3 separate regions of the Homo sapiens genome follow, and regions 1 and 3 are each linked to region 2. Evidence: promoter capture Hi-C in human tissues and cell types (Jung and others, 2019). All regions are on one chromosome and are shown on one strand. The core of a region is centred on a gene start or on the middle of the fragment in contact, and the rest is flanking DNA. Distances in the headings are between cores, read along the strand shown.

The links. Contacts are between HindIII fragments. The study calls those that stand out against the background at their distance.
Region 1: a contact is called between a fragment that was not itself captured here and the fragment with the promoter of ZNF431 in region 2, in 1 of the 25 tissues and cell types used here (spleen).
Region 3: a fragment that was not itself captured here is called in contact with the fragment with the promoter of ZNF431 in region 2 in 1 of the 25 tissues and cell types used here (stomach).

Annotation. Positions count from the first base shown.
Region 1 is chr19:21,827,020-21,831,158 of GRCh38, forward strand. All of the region lies in intron 1 of ZNF43 (zinc finger protein 43), which reads right to left. It also overlaps the pseudogene BNIP3P27. Among named protein-coding and RNA genes, the nearest start is that of ZNF43, 7.1 kb to the right of the region's middle. The HindIII fragment of the contact is 5,891 bases long and covers 1-4,139 here.
Region 2 is chr19:21,139,006-21,143,470 of GRCh38, forward strand. ZNF431 (zinc finger protein 431) reads left to right here and starts at 3,035. Exons shown (of 5, transcript NM_133473.4): 1 at 3,035-3,181. The coding sequence starts at 3,179. RefSeq lists enhancers at 3,061-3,540, 4,322-4,465. The HindIII fragment of the contact is 15,290 bases long and covers 1-4,465 here.
Region 3 is chr19:20,416,125-20,420,787 of GRCh38, forward strand. LOC124904663 (a long non-coding RNA gene) reads right to left here and starts at 4,019. Exons shown (of 2, transcript XR_007067167.1): 1 at 4,003-4,019. It also overlaps the pseudogene ZNF826P and the pseudogene BNIP3P22. The HindIII fragment of the contact is 4,759 bases long and covers 1-4,538 here.

The DNA.
Region 1 (4,139 bases), core at 750-3,249, 690 kb after region 2:
TTCAAAGCATCTTAAGAAAAAACTTAGATTAGATGAAAGATTGATCAAGTCAACCAAAAATACTCCCCTTAAACAAATTTCTCTCTAAACGAAGTGCACAGCTACTCTCAGCACAAGAAACATGAGCATTATGAAAAAAATATATATTCTCAGCAGAATTTTCTAAGGTTTCTCTTCCATGTCTGCTGCTGTCTCATCTCCTAGCCATTGGATGGGAGTTCCATATTGGAATACATCTCACAATTTCCACATGCACCTTTTGATGAAGAATTGAAATCTTGAGTTTATTCATATAGTGTAATATATTCAAGCTTGCAACACTGCTAACTGAAGAGCTACTATGTGGTTTTTTTTTTTTTGAAATGAAGTTTCCCTCTTGTTGCCCAGGCTGGAGTTCAATGGTGCGATCTTGGCTCACTGCAACCTCCGCCTCCCAGGTTTAAGTGATTCTCCTGCCTCAGCCTCCCAAGTAGCTGGGATTACAGGCATGCACCACCATACCTGGCTAATTTTTCTATTTTTGGCAGAGACAGGGTTTCTCCATGTTGGTCAAGCAGGTCTTGAATTCCCAACCTCAAGTGATCCACCCACCTTGGCCTCCCAAAGTGCTGGGATTACAGGTGTGAGCTACTGCGCCTGGCCATTTTTTTTTTTTTTTTGAGATGGAGTTGAGCTTTTGTTTCCCAGGCTGGAGTGCAATGGCACAATCTCGGCTCACTGCAACCTCCGCCTCCCAGGTTCAAGCAATTCTCCTGTCTCAGCCTCCCAAGTAGCTAGGATTACAGGCATGCACCACAATGTATGGCTAATTTTGTATTTTTAGTAAAGTTGGAGTTTCTCCATGTTGGTCAGACTGGCCTTGAAATCCCAACCTCAGGTGATCCACCCGCCTCAGCCTTCCAAAGTGCTGGGATTACAGGCGTAAGGCACCGTACCCAGCCTCTGAAGAGCTACTATATTTTTTGAGTGGCCACCTGACCTGTTTTTATCTGTCCTGTAATAGCAGCATTCCAATTTAGTTAAATGAAAGACACTAAAATTAAGCTTCCCTGTAATTATCCATATTGGATAAATTAATAAGCATGTCAGACTAATATCTATTGTAACAATTTGGTAGTGACTTTTCTTTGGATATTAGATATAAATATCTAAGTATAACCAACTTTAATGTACTAGTCATAATGTATGTAGTATTCTAAAAAATTGTTTGTAACCATATTTCAGTTAAAACTACTTTATATTTCAAAGTATGAGTAAGAATATTAAAATAACTATTTAGGCTAGGCATGGTGATTCATGCCTGTAATCCCAGCACTTTGGGAGGCCAAGGCGGGCATACCACAAGGTCAGGAGATTGAGACCATCCTGGCTAACACGGTGAAACCCCATCTCTCATAAAAATACAAAAAATTAGGCCAGGCGCGGTGGCTCATGCCTGTAATCCCAATACTTTGGGAAGCTGAGGCGGGTGGATCACCTGAGGTCAGGAGTTCGAGACCAGCCTGACCAACATGGAGAAACCCTGTCTCTACTCTAAAAGTACAAAATTTAGCCAGGCATGGTGGCACATGCCTGTAACCCCAGCTACTCAGGAGGCTGAGGCAGGAGAATCACTTGAACCCAGTAGGCGGAGGTTGCAGTAAGCTGAGATCATGCCATTGTACTCCAGCCTGGGCAACAGGAGTGAAACTCCGTCTCAAAAAAAGTAAATTTAAGGAAAAAAAAAAAATACAGCCGGACGCGGTGGCTCACGCCTGTAATCCCAGCACTTTGGGAGGCCGCAGCGAGCAGATCACGAGGTCAGGAGATCGAGACCATCCTGGCTAACACGGTGAAACCCCGTCTCTACTAAAAATACAAAAAAATAGCCGGGTGCCCTGGCGGGCGCCTATACTCCCAGCTACTTGGGAGGCTGAGCCAGGAGAATGGCGTGAACCAGGGAGGCGGAGATCGCAGTGAGCCAAAATGGCGCCACTGCACTCCAGCCTGGGCGAAAGAGAGAGACTCTGTCTCAAAAAAAAAAAAAAAAAAAAAAAAAAAAAAAAATTAGCCGGACGTGGTGGCACGTGCCTGTAGTCCCAGCTACTCCAGCTACTCAGGAGGCTAAGGCAGGAGAATCGCTTGAACCCATGAGGCAGAGGTCACAGTGAACCGAGATCGTGCCACTGCACTCGAGCCTGGGTGACAGAGTGAGACTCCATCACAAAGGAAAAAAAAACAAAAAACACCACACACAAAAAAAACTACACAGACTCCAAGGTTGAGTTTACACACTGAACTGTTCTTGCTTTTGCAGTGTAAGTACTTCAGCCTGCAAATATTAGATTACCTTGGATTATCAGTTTTCTGTCAAAGAAATTTATTCAGTATTTTTTAGTTTTTACCATTCTGTATTTCTAAATTTAATTCGTTCTTCGTACTAAACTTCTGTGTGCTCTTAAAATGAGCTTTAATCTAAACAAATCTGTGTCTACTTTAAAAGACTAAAAAAAAAATTAAATTTTCCCAAATCAAGGATAAGCAATGAATCTGAGGTCTTAAATAAAGACAATCTTGAGTCAAAAGAATGCCAAAAGATTTGGCTGTTAATATGATTTAAATATATTTCAAAAAAGCAATAAAAATATCTCCATATAATCTAAATGCTTTAAGATAAAAGAGTTGAACAAGATAGTCTCTCTTATTTTCAGGTAGGATAATAAAGCCTCTGATTTATATTTTCTTTTACAACAGCCAGGTCTCTGGACATATTGAACTCTTGAACATCTGAATTTCAGTAGACATTGGATTCATTGAGCTCCGTCTCAAAAAACAAAAAAACACAAAACCTGACATCATAAAAGAACAAGAGAAGAAAAAGCAAACTGACCTCTAAGCTAACAGAGGACAAGAAATGAAAATCAGATCTGAACTGGAGAGTTAGACAAAAAAATGATAAAAATATGGAGAAGGCTGGGTGCAGTGGCTCACCCCTGTAATCGCAGCATTTTGGGAGGCCGAGGTGGGCAGATCACTTGAGGTCTGGAGTTCGAGACCAGCCTGGCAAAATAGTGAAACCCGGTCTCTACTAAAAATACAAAAATTGGCCATGTGTATTGGTGGGCACCTGTAATCCCAGCTACTCAGGAGGCTGAGGCAGGAGAATTGCTTGAACCAGGGAGGCGGAGGTTGCAGTGAGGCGGAGGTTGCAGTGAGGCAAGGTTGTGCCACTGCACTCCAGCCTGGGCAATAGAGAGAGATTCTGTTTCAAAAACAAAATGAAAAAAAAAAACAAAACAAAAAACAAACAAACAAACAAAAAAAGAAATCCAGGAGTAAAATCTTTGAAAGAATTAATAAGATAAATAGCACTCTAGAGAGATTAATGAAGAAAGAGAAGATCCAAATAAACACGATTAGAAATGACAAAATGGCCATTAACACTGACCCAACAACAACAAAATAATTATTCAAGTCTGTAACGAACACCTCTATGTAAACAAACCGGAAAATCTAGAATAGATCAATTCCTAGACACGTACATCCTCCAAAGACTGAAAAAAAAAAAAAAAGTATCCCTGAAGAGACCAACAAGATTCAAAATTGAAGTATAATAAATAGCCTAGAAACCAATAAAAAACCAGAATCAGACATATTCACAAAAGAATTCTACCAGATGTACAAAAAAAAAAAAGCTGATACCATTCTTACTAGAGCCATTCCAAAAAATTGAGAAGGAACTCTTCCCCAACTCATTACATAATAGCATTATTCTGATACCAAAACCTGGTATAAAACAAAAAAAGAAAACTTCATGCCAATGATCTTAATAAAAAATGATGGAAAAATTCTCAACAAAATACTGGCAAACTGAATCCAGCAGCACATCAAAAAGCTAATCTACTATGATCAAGTAGCCTATATCCCTGGGATGCAAGGTTATTTCAACATACACAAATCAATAAATGTGATTAATCACATAAACAGAACTAAAGACCAAAACCACAAGATTATCTCAATAGATGCAGAAAAATCTTTCAAGAAAATTTAACATTCTTCATGTTAAAACCCTCAACGAACTAGGCATTAAAGGTACATACTTCAAAATAATGAGTTATCTGTCACAAACTCAAAGCCAATACACTGAATGGACACACAGA
Region 2 (4,465 bases), core at 1,785-4,284:
TGTTCAAGCCATGTTCAAATAAGGCAAATCCCAAGCTGTGGTCAATCTGGCTGTTTCTACACCTCATGTTTATTTTCTGTATGTCCCTTTGCTTTTTCTGCCATAAATCTGTTTTCATCATGTGGCTGTGCTGGAGTCCCTCTGACCCTGTTCTGGATTCACAGGCTGCCCAATTTGCAAATTATTCTATGCTCAAATAAACTCTGTTAAATATAATTTCTCTAAAGTTTTTTTCTTTTAGGCTGGGCACGGTGGCTCACACCTGTAATCCCAGCACTTTGGGAGGCCAAGGCGGGTAGATCACGAGATCAGGAGTTCAAGGCCAGCCTGGCCAACATGGTGAAACTCCATCTCTACGAAAAATACAAAAAAAATTAGCTGGGCATAGTGGCGCGCACCTGTAATCCCAGCTACTCGGGAGCCTGAAGCAGGAGAATTGCTGAACCCAGGAGGCAGAGGCTGCAGTGAGCAGAGATTAGGCCACTGCACTCCAGGATGGGCAAAAGAGCAAGACTTGGTCTCAAAAAAAAAAAAAAAGTTTCTTTCTCTTAAAAGTTTTCAAATTTTTTTATATGATGAAAAATAAATAATGTGTTGTTGGGCCTCGATTTCCTAAACTCATCCCTCAGCTATTTCCTTAAATTATTCTATGTCTTTTCAAAATGCTTCTTCAATTTCTTTTCTTTTTTTGAGACAGGGTCTCACTCTATCAACCAGTCTTGATTGCAGTGGTGTAACCAATCATGGCTCACTTCAGCCTTCACCTTCCAGGCTCAAGCAATCCTCCTGCCTCTGCCATCTAAGTAGCTGGGACTACAGGCATGCACCACCATGGCTGGCTAAATTTTATTTTATTTTATTTTTCATGGAAACAGCATCTTATTATGTTGCCCAGGCTGCACTGGAACTCCTGAGCTCACGTAATTCTCCCATCTCAGGCTACCAAAGTGCTAACAATACAGGTGTGAGCCAGCTAGTGCTTCTGCAATTTCTTGAGATGATTATTCCCAATGATAAACAGTACTGAGCACAAATCTGAAGGAATCTGGTTTCTTCTGTACAAGTGTCACTCTCCAGGATTTCAAGGGTCTAGGGCAGGGCAGCTACTTTGTAGTGTGATCTATGGAGGTACATGGGCTTTGGAGTCAGACAGAGTTAATCCTGAGTCTCAGCCCAGCCACTTAGTATCTGTGGGTCTTTGGACAATTTTCTTGATGTGAAAGAGTTCTATGAACCACATATGGAAAAGAGGTAGATTGGTACTAATTGCAAAATGGTGGCAATTTTTAATCTCTTCTGTATCCATGCCCATTGCCAGGTGCTTTTACAACTGTTTCCATCAAGATCCAGAATCTGTTTTCCAAACCCTAGATCTGGCTGGCCTTATTGGCTCAGAGTGGTAGAAACTTGTGAACATGACAGTGGGCTAGTTTGGGGCCCAGGCTCAAATGGTCTTGAATGCTTCTGTTTTTCTTTCAGAATGCTGCCATCTCCCTGAATAAAGCCATGTTAGCCAGCTGGAAAATAAGATACCATGGGAAGGAGAAGCAAGGTGCCCTGTTGACAGCCCCAGAACTAGAAGCTCACCCCCAGAAGCACAGCTGGCTAGTCAACAAGCAGCTGATGATACGTGTCTCAAAGAGCTCAGCTGAGACTAGAAGAACGGCCCCACTCAGTCTAGCCTAAATGGCTGACCATCTCAATTATGAACTAATAAGTTTTGGACGATTTGTTATGCTACAATAGCTAACTAATACATGCACCCCGTGCAGATAGGACACCAGGATTCTATGACAGGTTGATTACTAGTTACCTTCTAACAGTGGGCACCCTATAGGTACTGATTTTTTCCCCTGATTTAAAGTTGGGTGACTTGTAAGAGAATGTTGAGTAATGCAGAAATACACGTAGACATGTATGCATGTGATTGGTGCTTATACCCACACAGTCCCACACACCACAGGAGAAAACAGATAACTACGGCCTGACCATTAGGGCCAAGGCCAATAGCAAAATAAGTTTTGCCTTTAATCTGTTTTCTCCATATCTAAACATTTGAGGTCAAGAGTGTGGACAGATCTGAAGACACAGAGTTTTATTATCCTGTGGCCCCAACATTCTTTCTTCACTGTCTGATCTCTGGAAGAAAATGGGCAACAGGTGGCTATCAGTGGTCTCCTTGTGGTTATTTTGTTCTTGCTGCCCTCTGCTCTTTCTATGGCCACTATCTGTTCCACCCTCAGAACTGAAGGGAGATGTTGGTAGGGAGAGGCTTTTCCTTCACCTCTGGCAGAAAAGGTTTGCTGGGGCCCTTCACCTCCCGACATCAGAGCTGCACTTCAATGTGGAAGCTTTGGTCATGTGTGGCTCCTGAGTGCCTGGAATGTTCCTGGTCTGAACTGCGATGTGCTAGAAAGGTAAAATACAGAGTTAGTTTCAAAGATTTAGTTTCAAATATTTATATACTTTATTAATAATCACATATTTCTCACACATTAAAATGAAAATTTTTTGATATATTGGGTTAATTAAATTGTTACAATCAATTCAACCTGTTACTTTTTTTTTTTAAGTTTGGTTACTAGAAAATTTAAAATTTACATATGGCTCACATTTTATTTCAGAAAATTACCTCCGTTCTAAAATTTCAGACGGCCTGCTGAAAGACCAGAAGCCGGGAAGGTCATAAAATCCGAAATTTTAAAATAATTGTTATTATATTCTTTTCATTTGTGAATAGGCATACAGTATGTTATTTATAAATGCATGTGACTTTACACACAAGGTTAAATACAAATTCCCTCTGGGGTGGGCCTGGCTAAGCTCTGGGAGGAAGCCCTGCCTGAAAAGACGGCAGCCTAAGCTGTCACTCTTTCTTCACTCAGCCCAGCATCTGTTCGCATCTTCTGTCACTCAGGGCCTGAGAAGGTGGGGTTTTAAACGTTATCCAATCAGCGACGCTAGGCTGGGAACCGTCCAATCAGGCACGCAGCTGGAGCGGACAGGACGGCTTCCGGGATGTGGCGGGGCCTTTGTCTCTCGCCGCAGCCTGAGCTCCAGGTCTCCCCTTCGCTGCTCTGTGTCCTCTGCTCCTAGAGGCCCAACATCTGTGGCCCTGTGACCTGCAGGTATTGGGAGACCCACAGCTAAGACACCGGGACCCCCTGAAAGCCTAGAAATGGTGAGAGTGCCGGGTCGGACATCCCGAGAGAGGGGAAGGGCTGGTTGTAACCGGTGGGAAGTGGCTGTGGCGGGACTCAGGCCTCCCCGCAGTCAGCTCCACAGTCTGCGCCCCGAGTTCTCCTTGCCCAGCTCGGCCTCAGTCCCCTCCAGCCATAAGATGGCGGCTGTGCTGACAGTCGGGACCCCAGGCGTCCTGTCTCTTCACTGCACAGTGACTGTGCCCTGGCCTGGAGCCCTCTCTGGGCAGCTCTGCACCCGCAGCACCGCGTCTTTCCCAGATTGTGCAGGGACCACGGGAGGGTCTTCAGGGGACAGTTCTGACTCGGGGTGCGGGTTCATGAATGGGAAGAGCTTTGTTCCGTGGAGTTCCCAGTTCCTCTTGTCTTCTGTTAAAAATATATGGGAGTCACTATAAAAACATTAAATAATTTAATCAAAGAGTGATTCAAAAATTGTGGAGCACCCAGCTGTGGTTTGTAATTTGTGCTTCATGGGCGGGACTTGAAGAAAAGACTTTTATAAAAAGCATGATGAAGAAAACCAAATTCAGTAATTGGTTAGGTAGAGTTACATAGTTTCTTAATTTGTACAATAAAGGTGAAAATTTCCTGATTATGTAATCAGAGGTTAATTGGCAGTTTATAGTTGGTTAGGGCTGAGTTTTGTTTCTCTCAATGTAGTAATTTACTGAAAAATGTACGTCAGTTAGATTTTTTTAAAGTAGGAACCCAGGGACTAAAGACACCTCCGTCTAATTGCCTGCCTTTTAATTATTTTCACAGTCCATGGGGAGCTGATTTTCCGCTGCATTTTTCACCTGTGTCCCAAGCAGGGTCTTAAGTCTAACCCCCATTCCTCATTTCTCCAGCCTCCCTCTGGCTTGCAGTAAGATACTAAATTTCCAGTTCCTTCTGGTGTTTCCAAATGCCAGCTTTTCCTCCCTAATTCACGTTATCGCCTATTTGTCTTTTAGTGTACTTTTCTATACCGTATTTTAATTATTTTTTGACAAAGCATTAAATGACGCTTTTCAAAAAGTTTTTTAAAAGATTTTTTAAAAAAAATATCTGTAAATATTTCCCATGAGAAGAAAGCAAAGAATAATCCCCTGATACTGTATTGTTAAAACTCTCTGTGCCTTTTCTCCTTGTATCTTCTCTAGGCACAGAGATCTTGTCAGAATGTTTTTCGGTCAAGGTTTTCCTTTGGAAACTTTATGGGGTGATGTGTCCTCAGCCACCTTTTAGTTTTTTTCTGGTCGTGGGTTTCAGTGCTGTCTGGG
Region 3 (4,663 bases), core at 909-3,408, 720 kb before region 2:
GTCATACATAGTTCATCCTAAATTCACCTGGAGATTGAAGAGGCCATCTGTGTATACTAATTGCTTATATTCAATGACAAATAAACTTTTCACATCTTCATAACAGGAGGTAGTTTAGCAGCTTGAAGCCAGGTGCCTGCTGAAGGTAGCCTCTTACTCTGCTACAAAAATGGTTGAATAGGGTTCTTTTTTGCTATTTACATTTTAGAGCTGTGGTTCTGTACTCCCTGCCACTGGGCTACAGCACTCCTGCTTGCTTTCTCCTGGTTGCTAGTATGCTCTCTTGACCTCTACCATGTGCCACTGAGGCACAGCCCAGAGCACAGCTCACATTTTATGTGAATCCCATTTGCCACAGCAGCACTTTAGTGTCACATCAGATAGTGAAGCCTGAGCTGCAGGAGGAGAGCCTGCAGGCCTCCTGGGTAGAATTACACATTCACAATAATGGAAATGAGAGCAGTGTTTCAACCTCAGTTTCTACTTATAATGGTGACAAGGAAAAAATACTGCTGAATTTTCAGCATGACTCAAGATAGAGATAGCTCCAAAAGTTCTCACTATGACAGCCCACCTCATTCAGAAAAAAATGGGATATTAATAGGGTTTCTGAAACAGACACCTAAAGCTTTGGAGAGACAAACAGATCTCCGTCTGAGCAAGATTGAGAGAAAAAAGCTAAAACTATCTTAAGAAAAAGCTCAGATTAGATGTAAGATTGATGATGTCAGCCAGAAAATATTCCCCTGAAAGCAATTTCTCTCTAAACACCCAAAGTGCACAGCTACTCTCTGCATGAGAAACATTAGCATTATGAAGAAAGGGGCAAAGTCTCAGAAGAATTTTATAGTTTCTTTTCTATCTCTGCTGATCCATCATCTCCTAGTCATTGAATAGGGGTTCTGTATTGAAATACATCTGACAACTTCCCACAACACCTTCTGATGAAGAAATAGAATCTGACTGTGTTCATTTATTGGAATATATTAGAACTTGCAACATAGCTAACTGAAGAGCTACTATGGTTTTTGGTGGCCACATCACCTGTCTTTATTTGTCATGTAATAGCAGCATACCAATTTAGTGAAATAAAAGATATTAAAATTTTGTTTACTCATAATTATCCCTATTGAATAAAGTAATAAACATGTCACACTAATATCTACTTACTGTGACAATTTGGTAATAAATTTTCTTTAGATATTAGATATAAATATCAGTATGAATAATTTTAATAAACTAGTAATAATATATGTAGTTTTAAAAATTGCAACTATACTTCAGTTAAAACACTTTATATTTCAAAAGTATAAATTACAATATTAAAATAACCATGTAAGTGATTCATTCAAAGTAAGTATTGCGGCTTTATATTCATGTTACTGTAGAAAATACTGTTTATGGCTCATGCCTTGTCCACACTTCGGGAGGCTGAAATGGGTGGGTCACCTGGGTCAAAAGTTCAAGATCAAACTGGAGAACATGGTGACACCCATCTCTACTATAAATACAAAAACTTAGTCAGGAATGGTGATGCACACCTGTAATCCCAGCTACTCAAGAGGCTGAGGCAGAAGAATCGCTTGAACCCGGGAGGCAGCGGTTGCAGTGAGCCGAGATCATGCCATTGCACCCCAGCCTCAGCAACAGAGTGAGACTCTGTCTCAAAAGAAAAAAAAAAAGAGAATACTGTTAAATGTATATAAATGCAGGTTGTCTACAAACATTACGTATAACTATGCTAATTATTCTGAAGTAATAAATAGAAAGCAAGGTACAACTACTGACTCCACTGTTAAGTTTATACACTAGACTGTTCTTGTTTTTGCAGTGCAAGTACTTCAGCCTGCAAATATTGGATAATTTCCTTAGATCATCAGGTTTCTGTCAAAGAAACGTAGTATCTTTTATTGTTTACCATTCTGTGTTACTAAATTTAATCCTATCTTTGTGCTAAGCTTTTTTGTGCTCTAAAATTAGCTTTTACCTAAACAAATCTGTGTCTATTTTAAAGGACTAAAAATGAAAAAAATAAAGTTTTCAGAACCAAAAACAAACCAATAAATCTGAAGTACCAGATAACGATAATCTGGAGTCAGAAAAATGACAAAAGGGGATGGGCATGGTGGCTCACGCCTGTAATCCCAGCACTTTGGGAGGCAGAGGTGGGCGGATCACAAGGTCAGGAGGTCAAGACCATCCTGGCTAACATGGTGAAACCCCGTCTTTACTAAAAATACAAATTAGCCAGGTGTGGCAGCATGCGCCTGTAGTCCCAGCTACTTGGGACGCTGAGGCAAGAGAAGGGCATGAACCTGGGAGGCAGATGTTGCAGTGAGCCGAGATTGCCCCACTGCATTCCAGCCTGGGTGACAGAGCGAGACTCTGTCTTAAAAAAAAAAAAGAAAATGAAAAAGAAAAAATGACAAAAGACATTATTTAGCTGTTAATATGATTTACATACATTTCAAAAAAGCAGAGAAAATTGTCTATATATAATCTAAATCCCTTAAGCAAAGAGGGAATAGCAAAATATTTTTTTGGAACTTATTGAAGAGTTTTGAACTCTTGGACATCTGAAATTTGCACACTCTATGCACTTGACAGAATGTTTATGAAGGAAAAACCAGAAAAGAGAAAGATGTTATAAAAAAATCCATGAGTGCACAAGACCAATGCAACAGAATAGAGAGCCCAGAAATAATGCCACCCTCCTACAACCATCAGATTTTTGATGAAGCTGACAAGAGAAATGTGGGAAGGATTCTCTATTTAATAAACAGTGCTGGAATAACTACCTAACATTATGTAGACGACTGAAGCTAGACCTCTTCATTATACCGTATACAAAAATCAACTCAAGATAAATTAAAGACTTAAGTGTAAAACTTAAAATTATGGCGGGGCGCGGTGGCTCATGCCTGTAATCCCAGCACTTTGGGAGGCCGAGGCGGGTGGATCACGAGGTCAGGAGATCGAGACCATCCTGGCTAAAATGGTGAAACCCCGTCTGTACTAAAAATACAAAAAATTAGCCAGGCATGGTGGCGGGCGCCTGTAGTCCCAGCTACTCGGGAGGCTGAGGCAGAATGGTGTGAACCCGGGAGGCGGAGCTTGCAGTGAGCCGAGATTACACCACCGCACTCCAGCCTGGGCGACAGAGCGAGACTCCGTCTGAAAAAAAAAAAAAAAACAGAAACCAACCAAACAAAAAAACCCTTAAAATTATGAGAAACCCTCCAAGATAACCTAGGAAATACCATTCTAGACATAGAAACTGGCAAAGACTTCATGAGGAAGCTACCAAAAGCAACTGCAACAGAGGCAAAAATTGAAAAATGGGACCTATTTTTCAATTGTGAAGATCTTAAGAGCTTCTTCACAGCAGAAGAGATTATCAACAGAGTAGACAACCTACAGAATAAAGGAAAATATTTGCCTCTGACAAAGGTCGACTTTCCAGAATTTATTAAGAGCTTAAACAAGTTTACAAGAAAAAAACAAGCAACCTCATTAAAAAGTAGACAGGACGGGCACAGTGGCTCACGCTTGTAATCCCAGCACTTTGAGGGGACAAGGAGGGTGGATCACTTGAGAGGAGTTCAAGACCAACCTGGCCAACATGGTGAAACCCCGTCTCTACTAAAAATATCAAAAATTAGCTGGGCGTGGCGGCAGGTGCCTGTACTCCCAACTACTCAGGAGGCTGAGGCAGGAGAATGGCTCAAACCCAGGAGGTGGAGGCAGAGGTTGCAGCCAGCTGAGATCACGTCATTGCAATCCAGCCTGGGTGACAAGAGCAAAACTGTTGCAAAAAAAAAAAAAAAAAAAAAAAAAGTAGGCAAAGGCTGGGTGCGGAGGCTCACACCTGTAATCCCAGCACTTTTAAAGGCTGAGGTGTGCTAATCACCTGAGGTCAGGAGTTTAAGATCAGCCTGATAAACATGGATAAATCCCGTCTCTACTAAAAATACAAAATTAGCTAGGCATGGTTGTGTGCACCTGTAATCCCAGCTACTTGGGAGGCTGAGGCAGGAGTATTGCTTGAACCTGAGAGTCAAAAGCTGCCGTGAGCCAAGATCGCACCATTACACTCCAGCCTGGGCAATAAGATCAAAACTCTATCTCAAAAGACAAAACAAAATGAAACAAATAAATAAATAAATAAAACTAATGTAGAAACAGAAAACCAAATGCATGTTATTATTTAAGTAAGTGCTAAATAATAAGAACACATGAACACAAAGAGGAGAACAAGAGACACTGAGGCCTAGTTGAGGGTGGAGGGTGGGAGAACTAAGAGGATCAGAAAACATACCTGTTTGGTACTATGGGTAGGACCTCAATGACAAAATAATCTGCACACCAAACCCCCATGACATAATTTTAGCTGTATAAAAAACCCACACATGTACACCGAATCACAAATAAAACCTAAAAGAAAAAAATACTCCAAGGTGGGGGAGAGTGCAATGTAGGTGCATGGACTGCTTTTCACTATAGATAGTAGCCCAGGTGGGGCTGTACTCTGATTTATTTCTGTGTGAATGCAGGTAGATGAAATTACAAACAGGTGGCCCAGACCCTAGGCTGGTGGAGAAAACAGGTTGCTGCTGCAAATTTAGTATCTAGGGGTGGGGATATGCCAGGAGACTTGTAGAGA